Linked DNA regions of Homo sapiens: all the other regions are linked to region 3. Evidence: promoter capture Hi-C in 16 types of primary human blood cells and fetal thymus (Javierre and others, 2016). All regions are on one chromosome and are shown on one strand. Each heading gives the region's core, a stretch centred on a gene start or on the middle of the fragment in contact. The rest is flanking DNA. Distances are from core to core; before and after follow the strand shown.

Region 1 (3,626 bases), core at 679-3,178, 650 kb after region 3:
GGGAAACCCATTCTCTATAAAAATTTTAAAAACTAGCCAGGCATGGTGGCACAACTGTAGTCGCAGGTACTCAGGAGGCCGAGGTGAGAGAATTGCTTGAGCCCAGGAGTTCAAGGCTGCAGTGAGCCACAATCCCTCCGGTGTACTCCAGCCTGGGCAACAGAGTGAGGTCCTGTCTTCAAAAGAAAAAACAAACAACAACAACAACAACAACAAAAAGGCTTTCAGCAGGGTAGCAGAGCACTGCTCCCCATCGTGGTTTTTGTTTGTTTGTTTTTGTTCCTGTTTTGAGATGGAGTTTCGCTCTTGTTGCCCAGGCTGAAGTGCAATGGTGTGATCTCAGCTCACTGCAACCTCCACCTCACGGGTTCAGGCGATTCTCCTGCCTCAGCCTCCCCAGTAGCTGGGATTACAGGCACCTGCCACCACGCCCGGCTAATTTTTGTATTTTTAGTAGAGATGGGGTTTCACTCTGTTGGCCAGGCTGGTCTCAAACTCCTGATCACCCACCTCGCCCTCCCAAAATGCTGGGATTACAGGCATGAGTCACCGTGCCCGGCCCATCCTGGTTGTCTTGTTTGTTTTTGAGACAAGGTGTCTGTTGCCGAGTGGCACAGAGTGCAGTGGCACAATCATAGCTCACTGCACCCTCAACCTCCTGGGCTCAAGTGACCCTCCGGCCTCAGCCTCCCAAAGCACTGAGATGACATGCGTGATGAGCCACTGCACCCAGCCATGCTGGAAGCTTTTGAATACAACATGCTGCAGGCATCACAGCCTCATTCATTCCTTCACTCAGCAAATCTTTACTCAGCACCTAATGTGTTCCAGATACATTTTTTTTTTTCAGATGGAATCTAGCTCTGTCACCCAGGCTGGAGTGCAGTGGTGCAATCTTGGCTCACTGTAGCCTCTGCCTCCGAGGTTCAAGCGATTCTCATGCCTCAGCCGCCCTAGTAGCTAGGATTACAGGCGCCCTCCACCACACACAGCTATTTCCAGGTACATTCTTGACGCTAGGAATTCAGCAAAGAATAAGACAGTTAAGGTCTCCGATGCTCATAGGCCTCACATTTTAGAGAGGGATGAATGTCCAATAAGCATATAAACGTATAATATGTCAGGGTCGTATGACTACAAGGAACAGTGATTGTTACAACCCAGATGAGAGGGAAAAATAAAGGATTCCAAATATCCCCCTTGGGAAGTAGAGTCAGGATTCAAACAAAGAACTGTATGGCTTCAAGTTCATGGTCTTTAATCTCCTGGAGGCTGTCTCTCTTTCTTTTTTCTTTTTTTTAATCAGTGTTGGGATCAAATTCTGGCTCCCCTAGGAAGCATCTGGCAAGGTTTCGGGAGCCATCGGGTTGGCCATGTTATGCTGGAATATTTATAAGCACCGGAGGGTTATCCCCATGTCGTAGAAAATGAAACTGAAGCTCAGAGAGATTTGCACTCTCTGCCCTTTTGTACAACTCATTTTTCCCCAGTATGTGGAATTGAGGGAGCTTCACGCTTCTAGCTGTCATGATTCCAAGATTCTACGACATGTGGGAGAGGATCCTAAGGTTCGGGGAACCGCGGAGGTTTCGGGGTTCTAGAAATCCGAGGTTCTAAGCCTAGGTGCTCCAATAAACCCAGTGAGAGCCAGCCCAGGTTTCCGGTCTGTACCCGCTGGTGCAAGCCCAGAGACAAGCAGGCGCCACCCATGAGCCCCTCTGCGGCCCCCTCCCGGGTCCCACCTCGCAGGCCAGCTGGAGGGCGCGATCCTGGCGTCCCCCGACGGCCTGGGGCCCCAATCCAGAGGCCTGGGTGGGAGGGGACCAAGGGTGTAGTAAGGAAGCGCCTTTTGCTGGAGGGCAACGGACCGGGGCGGGGAGTCGGGAGACCAGAGTGGGAGGAAGGCGGGGAGTCCAGGTTCCGCCCCGGAGCCGACTTCCTCCTGGTCGGCGGCTGCAGCGGGGTGAGCGGCGGCAGCGGCCGGGGATCCTGGAGCCATGGGGCGCGCGCGCGACGCCATCCTGGATGCGCTGGAGAACCTGACCGCCGAGGAGCTCAAGAAGTTCAAGCTGAAGCTGCTGTCGGTGCCGCTGCGCGAGGGCTACGGGCGCATCCCGCGGGGCGCGCTGCTGTCCATGGACGCCTTGGACCTCACCGACAAGCTGGTCAGCTTCTACCTGGAGACCTACGGCGCCGAGCTCACCGCTAACGTGCTGCGCGACATGGGCCTGCAGGAGATGGCCGGGCAGCTGCAGGCGGCCACGCACCAGGGTGAGCCGCCCCCGTTCCCCTCCACCCCGTCTTTCCCCTCCACCCACACCAGCGCTTACCCCGCGGGCTCTTCCGCTTTCTGTTCCTCCTACCCCTAAACAAAGCTGCTCTACCGGAAAGGAGGCTCCCCACGCTTGGCCTACCGACCAACGGGACCCCGGCCCCACGGCGGGAAGGGAAGGGAAGGGGATCACTTGGCCCATATCCTTCCAGGCTCTGGAGCCGCGCCAGCTGGGATCCAGGCCCCTCCTCAGTCGGCAGCCAAGCCAGGTGAGGCCTCCACACCCAGCCCGGCCCCACCGCACTCCTGCACAGCCTGCATCTGTGCTCCCGCAACCAGGGCAGGGCAGGGCAGGGCAGGCACGGCTTGGCAACCCTGCGCACCCCACCCACCAACCCACACCCTGCGGGGGAAGGGAGACAATATTACCCTCATCCCACTGCATGTGGGGTCCTGGTGGCCGCCCCCTGGAGCCCTGCCCCTAGGCTTGCAGAGGAATTCCTGAAGAACTCAAGTTCAGCAGGGACAGGCCCCACACCCTGGCTGCTGGCTCATGTTCTCCTCCCACCCCCAGGCCTGCACTTTATAGACCAGCACCGGGCTGCGCTTATCGCGAGGGTCACAAACGTTGAGTGGCTGCTGGATGCTCTGTACGGGAAGGTCCTGACGGATGAGCAGTACCAGGCAGTGCGGGCCGAGCCCACCAACCCAAGCAAGATGCGGAAGCTCTTCAGTTTCACACCAGCCTGGAACTGGACCTGCAAGGACTTGCTCCTCCAGGCCCTAAGGGAGTCCCAGTCCTACCTGGTGGAGGACCTGGAGCGGAGCTGAGGCTCCTTCCCAGCAACACTCCGGTCAGCCCCTGGCAATCCCACCAAATCATCCTGAATCTGATCTTTTTATACACAATATACGAAAAGCCAGCTTGAACTTGTGTGTTTTCCTGCTTCTAGCCTGCTGGCATGTGCAGAGCTCAGCTATGCTTCAGAGGCCACCCAGCCTCCAGCTCCATGTCCCTAGGGTCTCTGGCACCCCAAATGCTTCCCCCATCCTTCCTGGTATCGCCATGGAATATCCCTCCTCATTCACCAGGTGGTGCTCCTCCAGTGCTCCCTAAAGGGTCTAACCTTACCATTATAGATAACAGCCTGTGACCCAGGTCCGAAGGTTAAAAGAGGCATGTACCAAAGGGCGCAAACTGGTGGGCAGCTCTGTCCAAGCCATTTAGAAACACACTAGTCTTCATAGCTCCCCTACCTTCCACATTTTCCACTGGAGAAAAATGCAGAATTAGAGAAATTTGCAGGGGGAGACACATTAGAGCATTATCTAAACATAGGACAGAAGAGCACAA
Region 2 (3,828 bases), core at 1-2,500, 870 kb after region 3:
GTCTGCACACAAGCCTCGATCACGTTCCGGGTACCTGGCAGAGGAGGAGGCGTATCCAAGCTGCAGCTTCTTCCCTCTCTGCATCTTCCTCCTCCCCATCCCAGGTCCAGGGAAAACCATGACAGGTCAGGGGAGGCGGGGGCAGGGCTGTCAATAGGACAACTTGTCCCAGGGGAGTCACCGGAGGTCAAGGCCAAAGACAGAGTGGGGAACAAACAGGCAAGATGGCCAGGAGTGTCCAGAGCTCCTCACCCTGCACGTTGACCTCATGGATGGTCTTGGGACTGGCCCTGCCAAACACGTCTACCAGCCCAGCCGTGTGGATGACCACATGGGCTCCGGCCACAGCTGCTGCCACCTCATGGGCCTGGGTCACGTCCCCCTGGATGGCAGTCACCCTCACAGGCCCTGGCCGGGGTTGGAGGACACAGGCCATGTCAGAGCTGGGGCCAGAGGCCAGAGGCTGGGTTCATCTTCCACCCTGGAGTCACGTTCCCAATGTGACTCACTCGACCCATCCATGTGGACAGAAACCAGCATCATCTGTTCCACTGCAGGGGTGGGGATCCCAGCTTGGGAAGGGTTGGGGAAGCGTCCACACCCTCTCCACCACAAGCTCCCCCAACAAGAACCTGTCTTCAGCTCCTCCAGCCAGGGACCCAGGTGTTGGTCAAAGACCCGCAGCTCCCCGAGCCGGGGCTCCCGCTGCAGCAGCATTCGCACCACGTGCTCTCCCAGGAAGCCACAGCCCCCTGTGACCAGGTACACCAGCTTCTGGGCCTGTGCAGAGTCGGCCATGCCTGGCTGGGGAAGAGACCTTGGCTCATCCAGGGGCTGGCTGCCACCTGCTGCAACCACCTGTTACTGCTGGAGGTGCCCTGGAGCGGTGACGAGGCTGGCGTTTGCGGGGAGGGCAGAGCTGATCCTGGGAGCTGCAGCAACCAGGCCACCTGCCGTCTGCCCCTGCTGATGGCTGAGTTACGGAGAGAGGGGCGGGCTTGGGGTGCAGGAAGGGGTCAGGGTTTAGGGAGAGAGATTTGAAGGCAGTAAAAGGGTGGGGAGGCCAGGAGTTGAGGGAGGTGGAGGGAAGGTTATAGGAAGGTGGGAAGGGCCGGATGGAGGGAAAGGCCACCTGGGCACTGGCAGCGCCTCTGCCTACCTGCAGCCGCTATCCCAGGGTGCCCAGACTGGCCTGGAGGGGCCCTCTTCTTTCGTCCAGGGCTGGCCGGCCCGCACACCGTCCTTCCGCTGGCTCCTCCTTCTCCCTCCTGCCCCATTCCAGGAACAGAGACCCGCCCAGCCACAACCCCCACCACTCTTGCCCCAAGGCGCCCCCTGGCGGCCGCTCTGTGCTCCACTGGCATCTGGGTCCAGCGGAGAACTTGGTGGGGATGAAGCTCGAACTTGCAGAGTGGGCTGAAGGGGTCTGGGGCTGTGGGTGGAGCCAGCGGTGACCTCATCCCACAGTGTGACCTCAGGCCTTCCCTCCTGCTGGGCTTCCCAGGAGGCCGGAGGTCCAGCTGCAGCTGTGATTGTAGGAAGGGGAGGCCTGACCTTGGCACCACCCTGGCGGGCACTGGTGGGGTATTCCTGGTGCGGGTGCGGCTGCTGCAGCCTGTCAGGGGGTCCGAGACAGTCTCGGACTGTCTCTGCAGGTCTGGGCTCTTGCCTGAAGGCCCCTTTACCTGCCCCACACTTCAGGTACCCACTTTTCCCTCTCTTCAACTTGCACAACCCTCCGTGCCCTCTACCCCCAACCCCTCGCTCCTGCCCAAATACACCGACCAAACACTTTTGTACAATAAAGTTTAATCACAATTATAAAAATGTGGCGTCGGGTTTGCGCTATTAACATATGTACAGTCCAGCCCAGCAAAAGGGACCCACCCCGCCATCCTGGCCTGGCTGAGCCGGGGAGTGACACCAGGGTGGAAGGGTGACCCTCAGGGTCTGGCAGGAACAGATGAGGCAGGGTTCCAGGCACGGAGTCCCCAGGACTGGGGGTGCAGAGCCCCCCCAGGGGGAGAACATGGCCACTGCCCCAGAGACCCCTAAACTGGGGAGGGGTACACGCAGGGCGTAAGGGGAAGTCCCCATTAACACAAAGCAAGAGGACTGTGTAGCCCCCCAGGACAGAATCTGTACAGGCCGGCACCCCAGGTTTCCACAGGAAACAGCTGCTGGCTGCTACAAAACATTTACAGCTTCTTCTCCGCAAAGAAAAACAATCAGGGGGTGGTGGGCAGGGGTGACAGGAGAGGCAGAAGCTGCCTCCAGGGACTGAGGCTCCCTCGCTGGGCTTGGGGCCCCCAACCCCACGCTTGGAGATGGGGGCATGTGGGCCCTGCTGAGCCCACTAAGGCTGGGGGGGTGCTGGGAGCTCAGGGCACCAGGGGGAATAAATAGGGGTGTGGGCACCCATCCTGCCCCACCTCAGTTTAGGGAGCCCCGGCAGCTCTCTGTGCCACACAGACACGGGATCTTGTTGTCTTCCAGTGGGAACTTGTAGTCGTAGGTGATCTCCTCGTCCACGCCAATGGGCTGCTTGGAGTAGATCACGATCTTCTTCTGGGACTCGATGGTGATGACCTTGGCGTAGCAGTTAGGCTGCGGATGGAAGGGCGTGTGAGCCGTGGCCACCCCCACCGACCCCCAACTCCTGCCCCGGCTGGCCCCTGGCGCACCGTGCAGCAGTGGTTGATGAATCTGGCCAGGTTGCCACACTTGGTGGCATCGATGATGGTGTCGTGGTCCACCCGGAACAGGTAGCTGCTGCCAATGCCCTCCTGCACGTAGCGCTTCTCCCGCATGTCGGCCACCATCTGCCAGGGTGAGATGCGATGGTCAGGGAAGAGTCCCCCACTTCCTGCCCCTGAGCACGCCTGCCAGCCAGCACCCCAGGTCCACGCCCACCAGGCCTGGAGCTGCAGCTCTGCCTCCAGCTCCCGCTAACCCGGCACTGACTCTCTCGACTCTGCTTCCAGGAGCCCTCCCTCTTTGGGGCAGCATCCTAAGCCTCTGGTGGCCATTCTAAGTCACCCGCAGGGAACTCCAGGGAAATCTGCACTGGGTAAGAGAGCCACTGACTCCTTCGAGCATCTGCCTGGTCACAGTGGGGTCCCGGACTGCTGGGGCAAGTCTGGGGTTGGGGCAGCTCCTGAAATGACTGGCCATGTCACCAACGGCACCCTGCTCATCTCTCCTCCCTGGACCTCTCTCCAAAACAGGCACCTGTTGGCTGCCACCGGCTAATGCAAATGGCAGGCCGCCCATGTCAGGCCCCGCACCTCCGTGTGAGGAGCAACCCTTACTTCCCAGAAGACAGTGAGGAGCCTCTGCACGCCCTCCTCGGGTGACCTCACTCCCTTCCAGAGCCTCAGCCGCCAGCTATGTGGTGGGGACTCCTCCCAAACTTCCATTTCCAGCCAAAAGCCACCTCAGTGGAGCTGCTGGGCGTCATCCCCTAGATGTCCCTGGGGCATTGCAACCCCACATGTCCAGACTGGAGCTCATCTTGACCATATATTTGTTCTTCCTCCTCACACCCATCTCACTGGCCCTCCCATCATACTCCCAGCAGCTAAGAGCAGCACCGAGAGAGGGCCTCCCGTCCCCCTCACCCTCTCACTGCTGAGCCCAGCCAACCACCTTGCACCCAAAGCCTCCTCTCTGTCACCTCTGCTGCCACTGCTTGGGTCGGGCCACCCTTGCCTTTGCCTGGATACTGGTGTCAGCCTAGACATGGAGCTCACTAGCCATGGGGCCCTCTCCTGCGGAAGGACCCTCTCCTGCGGAAGGACCCTCTCCTGAAGAAAGCTCCGGGACTTT
Region 3 (4,097 bases), core at 666-3,165:
CTGTGGATTTGTCATATATGGCCTTTATTAAGTTGAGGTATGTTCCTGTAGGCCTAGTTTGTTGAGCGTTTCTATCATGAAAAGATGTTAAATTTTGTCAAATGCTCTTTCTGCATCTATTGAGATGATTGTATGGTTTTTGTATTTCATTCTGTTAATGTGATGTATTGTGTTTATGGGTTTGTGTGTGGAAATCCATCCTTCCATCCCTGGGATAAATCCTACTTGATTGTGGCATGTTATCTTTTTGATGTGCTGTTGCATTCAGTTTGCTAGTATTTTGTTGAAGATTTTAACATCTTTATTCATCATATTAAACTGTAGCTTTCTGTTTTCATTGTATCCTTGTATTGTTTTCATATCAGGGTAATGCTTGCTTCATAGAATGAGTTACAAAGAATTCCCCCCCCTTCTATTTTTTGAATACTTTGAGAAAAATTGATATTAGTTCTTCTTTATAAGTTTGGTAGAATTCAGCTGTCAAGTTATCAAGCCCCAAGCTTTTATTTGCAGAGAGACATTTTATTACTGTATCAATCTCATTTCTCATTATTGGTTTGTTTGGGTCTTCTATTTCTCCCTGATTCAATAGTGATAGTTTGTATGTGTCCAGGAATTTAGATATTTTCTCTAATTTTTCCAGTTTGTTATCATGCAATTGTTCTTAGGAGTCTCTGATTATCTTTCATACTTCTTTCTGCAGTATCAGTTGAAATGTCTGCTTTTTCATTTCTGACATTGTTTATTTGGGTCTTTTCTCTATTTTTTGTCTAGCTAGTGGTTTATGAATGTTGTTTCATGTTTTCAAAAAAAGTTTTATTTCATTGGCCCTTTGTATTTTTTTAAGTTTCTAGTTTGCTTACTTCTCCGATTTTTATTATTTCTTTGTTTGTTTGTTTGTTTTGTTTTGTTTTAAGACGGAGTCTTACTCTGTTGCCCAGGTTGGACTGCAGTGGTGCCATCTCGGCTCACTGCAGCCTCTGCCTCCTGGGTTCAAGCAATTCTCCTGCCTCAGCCCCCTGAGTAGTTGGGATTACAGGTGTACTCCACCACACCTGGCTAATTTTTGTATTTTTTAGTAGAGAAGAGGTTTCACCACGTTGGCCAGGCTGGTCTCAAACTCGTGACCTCAGGTGATCCAGCTGTCTCAGTCTCCCAAAGTGCTGGACTACAGGCATGAGCCACTGCACCTTGACTGATTTTTATTATTCCTTATGCTTATGTTGAGCTTAGTTTGTTCTTGCTTTTTTGGTTTCTTGAGGTGTATCATTAGGTTGTTTACTGTAAATATTTCTACTTTTTTGATGTAGGTATTTACTGCTGTAAACTTCCCTCAACACTGCTTTTGCTGCATTTCATAGTTTCCAAAATATTGTGTTTTCATCTTCATTTTTTAAATATTTGTTTGGATTTCTGTATTAACCCAATGGTTGTTCTGGAGCATGTCATTTAATTTTCATGTATTTGTACAGTTTTCAAAGTTCCTTTTGCTACTGATTTTTGGCTTTATTTCACTGTAGTATGAGAAAATACTTGATATGATTTCAATTTTTAAACATTTGTTAAGACTCGTTTTCTGGCCTAACAGAGGGTCTATCCTGAAGACTGTTCCATGTGCTTCTGAGAAGAATGTATGTTTTGCAGTCATTGGATCAAGTGTTCTGCAGATGTCTGTTAGGTTCCTTTGGTCTAAAGCAACGGTGCCTAACCTTTTTGGCACCAGGAACTGGTTTCGTGGAAGACAATTTTTCCTAGGACTAGGGGAGGGGGATGATTTCAGGATAATTTAAGTGCATTACATTTATCATTAGATTCTCATAAGGAGCATACAGCCTGGATCACTGGCATGTGCAGTTCACAATAGGGTTTGAGCTCCTATGACAATCTAATGCTGCTGCTGATCTGACAGGAGGTAGAGCTCAGCTTCACTGGCTCACCTGCCACTCACCTCCTGCTGAGCTTCCTGGTTCCTAACAAGCCAGGGGTGGGTATTGGTCTGTGACCCGACGGTTGGGGACCCCTGGTCTAAAGTACAGTTTAAATCTGATGTTTCATTATTGATTTTCTGTCTAGGTAATCTTCCAGGGCTTGTCTAGTGGTGATGAATTTCTTCAGTTTTTGCTTGTCTGGGAACGTCTTTATTTCTCCTTCATTATGAGGTATAACCTTGCTTAGGCTGTGTTTGCTAGTTGAGGCTGTGGTGAGGTTTTGGTAGGAATGGAACACCAGATAGGCCAGTCCTTCAGCCCCCATGGTGACAGTGGCAGCAGTAAAGGGTTGAGGGTGTCTGTCCTTGGGCTGCTGGGTAGTGTATGTGGGCACTGGTGTTAGTGTGCCTAAGCCTGTTGATTCTCAGGCCTTCAGGAGGCTTGCTCTGATGTCTGTAGTAACAGCAGTGGGCTAGGAAATGGGGCAAGTCCTCAGGCCTCTGAGCAGTGTGTACCGTGTGGATGAGGAGAGTAGTGGGGTTGAGGCAACTTCAGGCTTCCAGGCAGCACTCACAGTGTTTGTGGTGGCTGCAATGGGCTGAATCAGACAGTCCCTAGAGCCTTAGGTGACACATGAGTGTGGATGCTGGTGGTTGTCTGGGTGGGCCCATCCTTAGGACCCCAAGAGTACCCAGATGACAGCAGTGGTGGATGGCATGGGAGATTCCTAGACCTTTAGACAGCATGCTTGAGTGCTGGCTGCACATTTTCTTGGCCTGTTTTTAGGACCCTGGTGGACTCATGCCAGAGGCTACCACCTGTACAATGCTGTCCTCAGGTCCACAAGTGGAATATTTGACCACTAAGGGTGGGAGAGAGGCAGGTGAGGTGGGCCTGTTCTCAAGTCCTCCTAGTGATGCACATGAGCATAGGCTGTGGGCAGGGCAGGGGAAGTCCCAGACCTCTGGAGCTCATGCTAGGGCACCAGTGATGGCAGGCCTTCTGGAGCTGTTATTAGGCCCCTGGGAGATGGGTGCACCAAAATCTCAGAAATCGCCACTAAAGAATTTATTCATGTGCAAATAAATAAATAAATAAATAAATTCACTTACACTGTCTTATAATTATGTAATTAGTTTTGCTAGTGTGTGCTTTGTCTTTCTTATGCATTCAAATTATTGTCTGGATTTACTTGCTTTCAGCCTGAAAAACTTCTTTTGCCATTTTTTCATAAGGTCAGTTGGCTAGCAACAAATTGTATCAGTTTTTATTTACATAAAATGTTTTTATTTAACCTTCATTTTTAATAGCTAGTTTTTGTGGGTATAGGGTTCTTATTAGGCAGGCTTTTTCTGTGAGCATCAGACAAAATAATTTATAAAGAAGTAATTGAAAAGCTTCAGAGAAGGAAAATAAATCAAGACCTAAGGACACTGACTGGATTGAGCACCAACGTCATAGTGATGGCAGCTGGGTTTAAGATGACAGGGAGAATTGTCACTGAAGACAGTAGAAGTCTGGGGATCAAGTGGTCCTGACTGCAGCTGAATGGAAAGTTTATTTTGTATTTTATTTTATTTTAATTTTTGAGACAGAATCTCGCTCTGTTGCCCAGCCTAGAGTGCAGTGGCCCGATCTCAGCTCACTGCAACCTCTGCCTCCTGGGTTTGAGTGATTCTTCTGCCTCAGCTTCCTGAATAGCTGGGATTCCAGGTGCCTGCCATGATGCCTGGCTAATTTCCGTGTTTTTAGTAGAGACGGGGTTTCACCGTATTGGCCAGCTGGTCTCAAACTCCTGACCTGAAGTGATCCGCCTGCCTTGGCCTCCCAAAGGGCTGGGATTGCAGGCATGAGCCACCGTGCCCGGCCTGGAGAGTTTATTTGTTAGAGCCTCAGATATGGCACATGAGAGGTACACCAGCATGAACTCAAACATATTCAGAACTGGTGCCTTGGGGGAAAATCTATAGATTAAGTGCATGAGAAGTCACCACTTCAGTATCAGATGATGTTTGATTAAGAAAGTGTAACTCCAAATGTGGCAATCATGATCAAGGTTAAAGTTAGCACTAGTTATAACATAGGTGTGGTTGGTGGTGTCTCAGAAGCAAATAAAAGTTGTCAGTTGCTAAGAATGTGTTAATCATTTTATTCCACATGCTCTCATGC

What was found. The method cuts DNA at HindIII sites, captures the fragments that hold promoters and counts their contacts. A CHiCAGO score of 5 or more calls a contact.
Region 1: the fragment with the promoter of PYCARD here is called in contact with a fragment that was not itself captured in region 3 in 2 of 17 cell types (endothelial precursors and activated CD4 T cells); the score reaches 6.1 in endothelial precursors.
Region 2: a contact is called between the fragment with the promoter of HSD3B7 here and a fragment that was not itself captured in region 3, in 2 of 17 cell types (fetal thymus and naive B cells). The highest score is 8.8, in fetal thymus.

What each region holds. Positions count from the first base shown.
Region 1 is chr16:31,201,062-31,204,687 of GRCh38, reverse strand. It overlaps PYCARD (PYD and CARD domain containing), which reads left to right and starts at 1,928. Exons shown (of 3, transcript NM_013258.5): 1 at 1,928-2,271; 2 at 2,485-2,541; 3 at 2,847-3,202. The coding sequence starts at 1,998. The coding sequence ends at 3,103. PYCARD-AS1 (PYCARD antisense RNA 1) reads right to left here and starts at 2,803. Exons shown (of 2, transcript NR_102400.1): 1 at 2,702-2,803; 2 at 1,236-2,228. RefSeq lists a silencer at 1,578-1,937 and enhancers at 2,048-2,277, 2,467-3,097. The HindIII fragment of the contact is 5,508 bases long and covers 748-3,626 here.
Region 2 is chr16:30,982,629-30,986,456 of GRCh38, reverse strand. HSD3B7 (hydroxy-delta-5-steroid dehydrogenase, 3 beta- and steroid delta-isomerase 7) reads right to left here and starts at 1,250. Exons shown (of 7, transcript NM_025193.4): 1 at 1,160-1,250; 2 at 633-804; 3 at 253-408; 4 at 1-34. The coding sequence starts at 798. It overlaps SETD1A (SET domain containing 1A, histone lysine methyltransferase), which reads right to left. Exons shown (of 19, transcript NM_014712.3): 18 at 2,685-2,822; 19 at 1,793-2,607. The coding sequence ends at 2,434. RefSeq lists an enhancer at 1,269-1,781. The HindIII fragment of the contact is 29,451 bases long and covers 1-3,828 here.
Region 3 is chr16:31,853,428-31,857,524 of GRCh38, reverse strand. No RefSeq gene overlaps it. Among named protein-coding and RNA genes, the nearest start is that of ZNF267, 18 kb to the left of the region's middle. The HindIII fragment of the contact is 2,825 bases long and covers 503-3,327 here.